Linked DNA regions of Homo sapiens: region 1 is linked to region 2. Evidence: promoter capture Hi-C in 16 types of primary human blood cells and fetal thymus (Javierre and others, 2016). All regions are on one chromosome and are shown on one strand. The core of a region is centred on a gene start or on the middle of the fragment in contact, and the rest is flanking DNA. Distances in the headings are between cores, read along the strand shown. Region 1 overlaps KRT12 (keratin 12). Region 2 holds the start of KRT37 (keratin 37).

What was found. Contacts are between HindIII fragments. The CHiCAGO score rates a contact against its expected background, and 5 or more counts as called.
Region 1: a fragment that was not itself captured here is called in contact with the fragment with the promoter of KRT37 in region 2 in 5 of 17 cell types (erythroblasts, M1 macrophages, naive B cells and 2 more); the score reaches 9.7 in erythroblasts.

The regions. Positions count from the first base shown.
Region 1 is chr17:40,858,541-40,864,601 of GRCh38, forward strand. It overlaps KRT12 (keratin 12), which reads right to left. Exons shown (of 8, transcript NM_000223.4): 4 at 5,163-5,324; 5 at 4,945-5,070; 6 at 4,583-4,803; 7 at 4,025-4,095; 8 at 2,763-3,218. The coding sequence ends at 3,121. The region is part of intron 1 of LOC105371777 (a long non-coding RNA gene); the gene reads left to right. Among named protein-coding and RNA genes, the nearest start is that of KRT12, 5.7 kb to the right of the region's middle. The HindIII fragment of the contact is 1,078 bases long and covers 4,234-5,311 here.
Region 2 is chr17:41,421,302-41,427,627 of GRCh38, forward strand. It overlaps KRT37 (keratin 37), which reads right to left and starts at 3,284. Exons shown (of 7, transcript NM_003770.5): 1 at 2,731-3,284; 2 at 2,461-2,543; 3 at 1,477-1,633; 4 at 972-1,133; 5 at 768-893; 6 at 66-286. The coding sequence starts at 3,222. RefSeq lists a silencer at 1-110. The HindIII fragment of the contact is 11,234 bases long and covers 1-6,326 here.

The DNA.
Region 1 (6,061 bases), core at 3,523-6,022, 560 kb before region 2:
GTAATCCCAGCACTTTGGGAGGCCGAGGCGGGCAGATCATGAGGTCAAGAGATGGAGACCATCCTGGCCAACATGGCAAAACCCTGTCTCTACCAAAATTACAAAAATTAGCTGGGCGTGGTGGTGTATGCCTATAGCCCCAGCTACTCAGGAGGCTGAGGCAGAAGAATCGCTTGAACCTGGGAGGTGGAGGTTGCAGTGAGCCAAGATTACACCATTGTACTCCAGCCTGGGCAACAGAGCGAGACTCCCTCTCAAACAAACAAACAAAACCCATGGGATAAGATCAGGGAGGAGAGGCTGGGGAGGGATCAGATGAGGTTACCTGGGGAGGGAGTATAGAGAAAAGACAAGAGGATTGAGCCAACATTCAGTCACAGAAGTCTGAGAAAAAGCTGCCTACAGAGTGATGGCTCTGGGAGCTTTGTGGTAAAAAATTTCCAAGAGAAGGGAATGCTGAGAAACTATGGTACTAGCTAATAAATGACCCTTGCATTTATACTTGTGCAAAATCCTTTCCCCTTTGAGTCTCACACCATTCTTATGTAGTTGTAAGGAAAACAGATGTTATTTAAAGCAGTAACTATTTGCAGACACTTTTGAGCACCAGGGAAGTAGAATCCTTTATTTATTACTTGGGGGCTGTGGACCTTGTTCAGAGGCCTTGATAAAATCCTTTTGAGTCTGAAAGGTAAAGGTTACCCTAGGATGTGTGCTGGAAGGTGAAGGCTAGACAAAGAGAGCTGAGCGTATAATAAAGTGAGATGAGTGGAGGATCTGAAACCATTAAAAATATTTTTTTCTTTTCTTTTTTTTGAGACAGGGTCTTACTCTGTTGCCCAGGCTGGAGTGCAGTGGCACGATAACAGCTCACTGCATTCTTGACCTTCCCAGGCTCAGGTAATCCTTCCACCTCAGCCTCCCAAGTAGCTGGGACTACAGGTGTGCACCCCCACACCCGACTAATTTTTTTTTATTTTTTAAATTTTTTTTGTAGAGACAGAGTTTTACCATGTTGTCCAGGCTGGTCTTGAATTCCTGGGCCCAAGCAATCTGCCCATATTGGCCTCCCAAAGTGCTGGGATTACAGACGTGAGCCACTGCATCTGGCCATATAAATGATATTAAAAGGAAAAGCTGCATACTGAAGCAAATCAGCTTAAGTTGGCTGACTAGCCATTGGCCTTTGGACTCAGCTCTGGAATTCCTCTTGTCTAACACAACTCCTCCCTCTCCCTTCTGCTTCTTTGACACTCCTTATTCACCATGTCTCCTTGTTTCTTCATCCCACTTTGGTTTCATACAGTAAATAATAATAAGACACAAATATTGAGTACTTTCTAGGTGCCAATAGTTTCCAGGTTCCTAGTGCTTTAGGTACACGACCTCATTTCATCTTCACAAAACCCGTGCCATGAAGCAGGTGCAGTCATTGCTATCATTTCCACTTTAAGAAACTGAGGAACACAGAGGTTAAATTACTTGTTATTAAGTAGCAGAGCCGGAAATTGAACCCAGTGTGATGTTAGAGGCCAGGCTCTTAATCATTGAATTTTGCCCATTTTCCTTTTAGGGTTTTGAATTTGGCAACCCATGTTGAACCACCATCTACTCAGGCTGAGACTTTGGCTGCCTTTTTCCCTAATGCAGAACATGATTTTTGTTACTGACTTGTGGGTCTGACCTGCCCCAGTGGGGACCCCACCCTGGGCCTCACTGCTGCCAGCTAGGAGAAAGGAGAGCAGAACCATGTTTGTTCACACCCTCTGTCTTTTCACATGTATTTGCCCTGTTGCCTTTCTCCCTCGTCTACCTGGATGATTTCTTTATGTAGCATTTCATTGCCCCTCCTGGAAAATTGTTCACTTCTTCCATGTGTCCTTCGAAGTTCTGTTTGTTTTCTTTTTTTTGCTTTTTTTTTTTTTGAGACAGAGTCTCACTCTATTGCCATGCTGGAGTGCAGTGGTGCAATCTTGGCTCACTGCAACCTTCGCCTCCCGGGTTCAAGTGATTCGCCTGCCTCAGCCTCCTGAGTAGCTGGGATTACAGCCACCTGCAACTGCACCCGGCTAATTTTTGTATTTTTAGTTAAGATGGGGTTTCACCATGTTGGCCAGGATGGTCTTGATCTCTTGAGCTCATGATCTGCCCGCCTCAGCCTCCCAAAGTGCTGGGATTACGGGCGTGAGCCATGGTGCCCAGCCCTTTGAACTTCTATTCAACAGATCTCACTGTATCAACATTCTTGGTAGGTGTTTATCTCTGCCCTCAACCATGAGCTCCTCAAGGCAAGGACCATATCATATTCATCACTGAGCCTCCAACCTGGCACACTGTAGGGGCTCAGCGTTTCTTGACTGCATGAATGATGGTGCTAGAAAATGAACAGGACAACTCTCAACTGCTGTAGTAGACAATATAATTTTGCTACAACCTTGATGAGCTTACATAAAAAGGCCAGAACTTCTAAAAGAATCTTCTTTTAGCTTAATCCTCAAACCCTGACATCTTCATCCCAGTTTTATCTACATTATCATTATTATCATTATTAATGTTGTGTAGAGATGGGGGTCTCTCTATGTTGTCCAGGCTGGTCTTGAACTCCGGGCCTCAAGCAATCATCTTGCCTCTCAGCCTCCCAAAGTGCTGGGATTATAGGTGTGAGTCATTACTCCCAGCCTCTATTTTATTAGTAGTATTTCAAAAACTTCTCTCTATGCTCTTGACATTCTTGTTGGAATCAAGGCATACATTTCACATTATTACCATTCATCTTTTATTACAATTAACTCTATTAAAACAATACTACTTGATTAAAGCTCTATGATTAAAAAATATTCCGGGTTACCAGAAGAAAGTTCGTTAAAAGACTACTCCAGGTCCAGAAGGATATAAGGTAATTTTGATTTGTTACAAAGACCAACATGACCAAAATGACTTGTGACTGAATATTGTTTCAGAAGGGCAAAAAGGATTCAATGTGAATAGGGAATCCAAAGAAAATGGAACAGACAAAAATAGGGATTGAAGTAATACAGCATGTTACTCTGAAAGGAATAATTTCTACTTGTAAATTTCTTGTTCCTAAGGAACCAATCATGGGGCAGATCTTGTGAAATTTTACATTAGTTCTTCAATTTCCTGAACTTGAGATGAGACCACCTCACCATTCACCATCTCCTGCACAACTGTCTTGATTTTTCGGGTTTTGGTTGGGTCTAAAGATAAAAATGGAATAAGGGGGCAAGAGTTAGTGTTTCAAATATTAATCCAACACTGGTTGTTTAATGTAGGCTTCTAAATTAAGCATTGGTTGATACAATCCATCTAATTAAACTTTCAAAAGTAAATTTTACTTCTCAAAAATGTGTTTTAGCCAATGACAATGAAATGTATTCAGTGTTGCCTTGTACATATATGAAAACTTTTTTTAAGAAAACATTTCAAAGGTGGTTATGGTGATCATAATACCTTGCAGCAGAGTAGGTTTTTTCCCTTCTGCTTTGCCATTTTTTTTATTTTTTAATTTTAATTTTAATTTTCTTAAAGACAGGGTCTGGCTCTGTTGCCCAGGTAGGAATGCAGTGGCATGATCATAGCTCACTATAACCTCTAACTCCCGGGCTCAAGCGGTCCTCCTGCCTCAGCCTCCAGAGTAGCCGAGATCACAGGTATACACCACCACACCCAGCTATTTTTTTTCTTAAGTTTTTTGTAGAGATGGGGTCTCGCTATTTGCCCAGGTGGGTCACGAACTCCTGGCCTCAAGCGATCCTCCCACCTCAGGTTCCCGAAGCTATGAGGTTACAGGCATGAGCCACCATGCCCAGGCCCCCAAAAGTTTTAATATGGTATAGACTACTCATTTTGTGCAGGAATGCATAAATGTTTTTCCTTGGCTCAGAATATAAATATGCTTTAAATTAAAATTAATAATAATGCAGTAGTCAATGAGGTCTTACAGGTTTTGCATTAATAAATGTGATTCCGACTTATTCTAAGTGATTCTAGGGTTTCTGCATACCTTTAGAGGAATCAGTTGACTGTGCTTGTGATTTGGAGTCTGTCACAAATAAACTTTCCTCCAAACCATCACTGTAAGAAAACAAAGGAGATGACCTCAAAAAGTGAAACAACCTGGCTTTTAATGGAAGATCTGGTCTGAGAAATTAGATTTCCCAATTTGTAGGCCTGAGTTCTTCCAACTAGTGCAGACTCTGATCACTTTTGGAAAGCTTGTTAGAGTAGGTGGTTCAGGTGGCTACTATGTGTCCTTCTTATCATCAGGTCTTTGATATCAGAAATTGAGTAAGTGACTTTTATAGTACAGGGAGTACTCATTTACAAACTGTTTCTGACCGTGGTGCCTTTGTTCTTTGCAGCATTTTATGAATTATCAAGTAAGATAATGGGTGAAAACACTTTGCAAAGTGTAGAGCATTTAGTAAATCCCAGGCATATCTTTACTAGACTTGTGTTTGTTTGTTTGCTTTTCTGTCAACTAAAACCCCATTCCTTCTATTTCTGCTGCCCACTCTTGGTCAGCCCCTGAAGGTGTTTACAGCCTCCGTTGTCTGCTCACCCTTGGGCCTCCCCGTCCAGCAGGCGGCGGTAGGTCTCAATCTCCAGCTCCAGGCGGGCCTTGACATTCAGCAGCCGCTGGTGGTCCACGTTCTGGCGCTCTGCGTCCGCGCGCACCTGGAGCAGCTGTGCCTCCAGGTTGCTGATGAGCTGCTGCACCTGGGACAGCTGCGCGCAGTAATCGCCCTCGGCTTCGGCCAAGGAGTCCTCCAGGGATTTCTTCTGCACGTGGGAGGGAAATGGCATAGAAATAACGATGGAGGGGACCGAAAAGAGGAGGGTAGCCAACGGCTAATGTAATTTGGATGCAGCATTTTCTTTGGAAGTCCAAAGGATGCTACGTCTGTTTGCGCACGAGCCTACCATGGCGAGCTGGGACTGTAGCTCGATCTCCAGGTTCTGAAAGGCGCGACGCAGGTCGGTGACCTCGCTCTTGCTGGACTGAAGCTGCTCGGTGTTGGTGCTAATCTCCTTACGGAGCTCCCCGCTCTGCAACAGCAAAGACAGCCAGGGGGCTCGAGCGCTGAGCTCGTTCGCAGGCCTTTCTGTGAATGTATCAAAGCCTTTGTTGTTTGTGTTACCTTTTCAATGAACCAGGCTTCAGCGTCCTTCCGATTCTGCTCAGCGATGGTTTCATACTGCGCCCGCATATCATTGAGGAGCCTGGTGAGGTCCACTCCGGGGGCAGCGTCCATTTCTACGCTGACCTCGCCTGGGCCGCCCACCCGGAAGCTTTGGAGCTCCTGGGGACAGCATGTGAGAGAGAGGGGCACAGGGGTCCATTGTGACTTTCGTGGGCCCTGGATACTTTTGTCCTCTTGGGCCCCTTCCTACACACACACACACACACACACACACACACACACACACTTAAAAATTCTATCTTATGACTGTTGGTATAAAGACAAATATATTAATGTAATACATTAAAACTTTTTTAACCTCAAAATTCATATTTTTCTTCTGATATTACAAGAACTTAAGACATATTCATGGGTCCCTGAAATTACCACAGACCCTGGGAGCAGTGCCTGCTGTGCCTAATGGGTAAGTTGGCTCTGCTTCTTGAGGGACCACGACCTTCACGTGAAAGGAGGCCTGGCGTACACTCACTGGGGTTTTCACCTACAGCTGCCAAACCGAGGGCTGCAGACAGTACCTGGGCTTGCACGCTGTTTGTGCCACAATCATCGAAAATCTAGTAGAAACTTCCTATTGCCAGCATCCCTTCCCTACCTAGCCTCCAATATGCACCATGGCACCTCAGAGTTTTCTGGTGTGCATTATGCTAAGTATAACCAGTTTCTCTGACATATAAAACATTATATATTATTGGTAGACTTTTGTTTTAACTTTTAAAATACTCAGTCTTTTTAAAATCACTGAATTAGGACTGTTAGCATTCCTATTGTCATTGCCTTATAATGAAAATGACAAAATCAGAAAGTGCCTCAAATTTGTTGAGCCTTAGCAGGAACCA
Region 2 (6,326 bases), core at 2,034-4,533:
ATTACCTCTGAGGAATTGCCTGACAGTCATGTGTGTGGCTTAGGAATTGCCCAGATCACACGTACTTGCAGTCCTCGCTCTCCAGAAGGTTCCGGTATGTGGCAATCTCGTTCTCCAACCGGGCCTTCACGTCCAGCAGCACCTGGTACTCCTGGTTCTGCCGCTCCAGGTCGGCCCGGATCTCAGACAACTGCTCTTCCAAGTTGCTAATGAGGCTCTGCATCTGGGCCAGCTCTGTGCCGTAGCGGTCCTCCGCTTCACACAGGGAGTTCTGCAGACAGTCCTTCTGTAATGGGAAATAATGGGGTAAGAGATCCAGGTGCCCCAAAACTCAGCAGTGAAAATCATGACCAAACTCATCACACATAGGGCAAATTCCAAAATGTCATAGGACATTCTCAGAGCTCTGGAGAAATCACTGTCAACATGACCATGACTTCTCTCTCATGCACACAAATCTAACTTAAGGAACTGTCATGTTCATCCCTGTATCCCCAGTGCTTGACAAAAAGCAGGCACCTCGTAAAATCTTGTGGAGTGAGTGCCTGAACTTCCGCACTGTGTTGTAAAGGAAGTGGACTTGATTTTCTGAAGAAACCATTTCCCTGGGTCACACTGAACTTGACAGCAAGACGTCTCCATCGGGTATAGAGGACCCCAGATCTTGACTTAATGTTGAAGGAACTGATTTGTGAGACTTTAAGAGATGCTACTACCAGGACATGGCATGGGGCATTTGCAGTGCAGTGAGGGTGAAGGACACGTACCAAGGTGTGCTGGGCTTGGCGCTCCACCTCCAGGGCATTCACCGTGCATCTCAGCTCCAGGATCTCCGACTGGCAGCACTGCAGCTCCTCGGAGCAGGACATGGCCTGCAGGCTGATGCCTTCAGACTGGAGCACAGAGAAACACAGTCACCTCCCTGCTCAGATGGAGGCCAGGTACTCCCTGGCTCTGTAACCCCCACTCACCTGGGCTTGGAACCACTGTTCCACATCCTGGTGGTTGGTCTCCACCATGGCCTCGTACTGAGCCCGCATCTCCCCCAACACCCTGTTCAGGTCAATGGTGGGCTCAATGTCCAGCTCGATCCGGAACTTCTCCCCCAGCTGACTCCTCAGAATCTTTACTTCCTGCAGAAATGGAAGCGATAGACAGCCTGCGTAAGGAAACGGCCTTTGATGGAGCAGACAGCACCAGGACTCCGTCCCTGGCAAGCAGTAGGAGGGGAGTCCCACACATAAGCAAATGGGAAAGTCTTGTCCAGAGTGCATTTGGGAGAGCCCACCTGGACACCTTCCTCATGCCCAAGGCAAGTCTGCACTTTCCACAGAGGCCCTCTGGACCCTCAGACCCACCTCAGCCCTGCATCCTTAGGCCAGCTGAGCCCAGGCAATGCTCTGAGAGCCCCAGGGCCGGGGAGCTCCCCTGTCTGCCCAGCGCCCTCCCCAGGAGTCTGAGCAGCCAGGGCCACACCTGCTCGTGGTTGCTCTTGAGGGAGAGCTGCTCCTCCTTCAGGGACTCCTGCTGGGCCTCCAGGTCGGCCTTGGCCAGGGTCGCGTCATCCAGGAGCTTCTGCGTCCCGCACTTGTCCGCCTCCACCAGCTGGTGAAGGGAGCGCTCACTCTCCAGCCTTCCGTCACAGGAGGCACAGGGTCAAAAAGAATGCCCCAATAGCCCCTCTCAGCTGCCCTGGCTTCCTACCTCCCACACCACCTTGGATCCTTATTTGTTCACGTGGGCAGTATACACTATTCTCAACCCTGCAGCGACACGGTTTGTAGTCAGGACATTATGCCCATTGACCAGATGGAAGACTGAGGCTCAGAAACAAAACACGAGTTGTTCAGAATTCCATGCCCAGTTAATAGTAAATGCATGGACTCATCCTAAGTGTTCTGACTTCAAATGCAGCATTTATTCTGCCATAATAGGAGTCATTTGGCCAGGAAAAAGAATGGCTAAAAATAAGCCTCTGGACCTTCAGTTTGCTGCTTTTCCTCTTGGATTCATTATTTCTCGTTGTTTTCTTGCTTTTCCCCTTCATTCAAGCACAACTCTAGCTACCAAGGAGCTTCAATGACAATTCCTCCAGCTGATGGATTTGGCCAAGAGTCAGAGAGTCTAGCAACAACCTATGCATTGACAGTTTATTTTTGTGATGACTCAATTTTACTTCTGATTGAAAAGCAAAATCCTCTTATCTTCTAGATATGGGAGAAAGTGACATAGGTTCTAACCAATCTAGACTACAGCCCTTCTTTTTCTTTCAATGCTTATATTCTCTTTCCTCCTATATAATGACCATTTCTAGCAACAGGCTAATTTAAGGTGTGGAGAGAAATATTCTTCTAGTCAAAAACTGTTTTTGAACACCTACAATATAGACTGAGTAATGGGGCGGGCCCTTGGAAATACAGCAGGAGAGAAGTCACACTGACCCTCCTCATCCTGACTTACTTGATCCTAAAGTCATCAGCAGCCAGCTTCGCGTTGTCAATTTGTACAATCAGCCTGGCATTCTCAGCCTTGCTGCACAGGATCTGAGGAAAACGGAAAGACGGTTCACACACAAAGCACCATACTCTAAGCTCCCACTCCATGTGTGGTATTTACGCTCATGTCCAAGAGAAACCAAGAACCCAAAGCTCTCTGGACCTTATGCAGATTCCTCCTGCGAAGGCTTCTGCCTTCTCAGACCCAGCATGCCCAGGCGATCCCACACCTCACCTTCTGCTGGAGCTCCTCGATTGTACGGAAGTAGGACTGGTAGTCGGGGCACACGGTGGACTCGTGGCACTTGCTCCTCTCGAGGAGTGTGGTCTCCAGCTCTGCATTCTCCTGCTCCAGCTGGCGCACCTTCTCCAGGTAGTTGGCCAGGCGGTCATTCAGGAACTTCATGGTCTCCTTCTCATGGCCATTCAGGGTGTTTTTGCCGTAGGCCCCACAGATTCCGATGTTGCCGGGAATGTGACAGGTCCCTGGCAAGGGACAAGCAGTGTGACTGGTTGGGGGCAGACAGAGGCTGGGGCGGCCCAGGGGAGTCGACCCCACACGGACTCTGTTGGCGTGTGCCACGTTGGCCAAGAGGCACATGGAGGCAGCATTGGCCTCTGCCACAGGCTGGCACCCAACATCGATAGGAGAGACAAAGACATTTCTTGCTCCAGGAGCCATGGTGCAACCCAGAGGGCATGAGGAGGTGCTGTAGAAGGAGGTCATGGTGTAGGGCTGAGGCTGCACAGGAGCTTCAGATCAGCTGGGAAGGCTGAGCCACTGAGACTGAAGCCTCCTCTCCTCCCAACCCTTTTATACCCCATCCTGGGCGGGTGTTGGCTCCAGTGCTTTGACCTCCTGCCTTGATTATCTACCTGTTGTGGTGCCATCATCCTGTTACTCAGCTGCTGAGTTTACCATGAGAAGTTCCTCAGCTCATTAAAGCAATGTTGACAAATCTGAGATGCCTCTTGGCTCTTCCATATCAGGTTAGCTGTTGGTGGGAAGTCAGAGACTCACTGTTTCTGCTCAACAAACACCAGCAGTTGATTCAGGCCCCAATTGCTCTCTCTGGACTATGGTCTCTGTGGATGTGGTCACAATGAAGGCTCAAATCTTTCCGTCAGTAATTTGTGTAGCAGGAGACACAGAGAACCAATGGGACCCACTGGATCTTTCGCCTGTGCAAGACTGAATCAGCCTTTCCTTTGAAGAGAAAATATCAGTTAATAAAACCAATGCATCTACTGATATTTGACGATTGAGAGGCGCCTTTTTTTCTTTCTTCTTTCACATTGCATACTCCCTTGAGAAGCAATAACATCTGGAAGCAATGGCGCTAATTAAGTTTTGGTTGACTAGTCAGAATCAGCTATTCATTCATTTGTTCATTCATTCATTGGTTCAGCATGCTTCCTGAATATCCCCCATAACTCAGGCAGTGTGCTGGTTCCTGGACACGCAATGTTCCCTGTTCATCAGGAGTAAACAATGCCTCTGAAATCTCTGGATGTTCTACACAAACTTGAATGAGAACCATAGATCAACAAGAGTTAGTGAAAGACAGAGGATCTATAGTTCTGGCCAAGGAAGTATCTAGAAAGAAATCACTAACAAAGAAAAATCTTATTTGATCCAGGAAAGGGAGATTGGGCACAGAGCTCAAGCAGTATTCAAATGAAAGGTCCAGAACTAACATTGATTGAGTACTTAGGTGTGCTAGGCATTCTACTGTGTTCTTTCCTATCTAACCCTTACCACCTATGAGGTGGTTACTCATTGCCTCAATGTACAGATGAGAAAACTAGAGTGAAGTACATTTGCACATTTTCTGATTGACAGTTAGTGAACTGGCAAAGGCTCGATTCAGTCTCATGTCTGCTAGGCCCATTCTCTTTTCACTTCATCATGGCCCCCGGTGAGAACAACGGTGTCATTGCCCCGTCAGTGCTGGGCCTAAGGAGAGGGCAAGAAGGGGCTTAGTTACTGGATGAGAAATTGTGGTGAAAAGAAAATTACTGAAGGTCTTTGTGTTCCAGCAAAGGAAAAGATTTAAATACTATGGCAGTGACAACAAGAAAATGCACTTTAAAAAGTTAAACTAGGCCGGGCGCGGTGGCTCACGCCTGTAATCCCTGTACTTTGGGAGGCCAAGGCAGGCGGATCACCTGAGGTCAGGAGTTCGAGACCAGCATGAACAACATGGAGAAAACCGGTCTCTACTAAAAATATAAAATTAGCCGGGCATGGTGGTACATGCCTGTAATCCCAGCTACTCAGGAGGCTGAGGAGGAGAATTGCTTGAACCCGGGAGGCGGAGGTTTCCGTGAGCCAAGATTGCGCCATTGCACTCCAGCCTGAGCAACAAGATTGACACTTTGTCTCAAAAAAGAAAAAAAAAGTTACGCTAGTTTGTAACATATGCATCATTTAAGACAGGGTGCGTCCTGAGAAATGCGTCGTTAAGAGATTTCTTCACTGTGGAAACATTATAGGGGGAACTCACACAAACCTAGATGGTAGAGCCTACTACACACCTAGACTGTATAGCACAGCCTATAGCACCTGGCTACAAACCTGTACAGCATGTTGCTGTACTGAGTATCATAGGCAACTATTATTAACACGATAATATTTGTGTATCTAAACATAGAAAAGGTAATGCATTGCACTACGACATTATAACCACTTCCACATCACTAGAGAATAGGAATTTTCAGCATCATTATAATCTTGTGGGACCACCGCCCGTATATGTGGTCTGTCGTTGACAGAAACATTCTGACTGTATATCCCAAATCCCAGAGATTTCCAGTAGAGCTGGAAAACAAGTCAACCAATGGGGGTGTGGCCAGGAGTCATCCCTCCCAAGTGGTAGAGGGAAACCAGAAGGACCATGGGACAAGCTCTAAAAGAGTATAAATAAACTCTTTAAAAAAAAAAAAATCCCAATTAGTGGGAAAGTAAATGGCTGATACTAGTAGCAAAACCTTAAGTCTTTGAAATTGACATACTGGAAATGAGCCATTATTAAGATTTTAAATGAAAATAATAGGATTTAGACATAAAATAGGAAGCAAAATACAGTAAACAGAAATCGTGTAGCCAAATATGCATCAAATATGCATTCCCTTCAGCTACACTTTTTTCCTCTGAAATACAAGTTTTAGAAAATCTTAGAAGAGGGGTGGGCGCAGGACTTAATGCTGGGAAGCAACAACTTTGGGGCTGAATTTACTTGAATGGATTACAAATTGCATTGTTACACAGCTAAAAAAAACTTTATGTATGAAAAATGATAATAGCCTTACACTGAGTACAAATAATACTTAAAAGCATGTGAAGATGTGAGCATCTGTGATGTTACTTATAAAAAAAAAGTTTAGGTTTTTTTCCGTAAGTTATTGGGGTACAGGTGGTATTTTTTCCATAAGTGGTGGGGTTTTTTTCCATAAGTATTGGGGCACAGGTGGGTTACGTGAGTAAGTTCTTTGGTGGTGATTTGTGAGATTTTGGTGCACCCATCAGCCAAGCAGTATACACTGCATCCTATTTGTAGTCTTTTATCCCTCACCCGCTCCCTTCCCCCGAAGTCCTCAAAGTCCATTGTATCATTCTTATGCCTTTGCATCCTCATAGCTTAGCTCCCACATATCAGTGACAATATATGATGTTTGGTTTTCCATTCCTGAGTTACTTCACTTAGAATAATAGTCTCCAATCTCATCCAGGTCACTACAAGTGCCATTAATTCATCCTTTTTATGGCTGAGTAGTATTTCATCATATATATGTACCACAGTTTCTTTTTTTTTTTTTTTGAGATAGAGC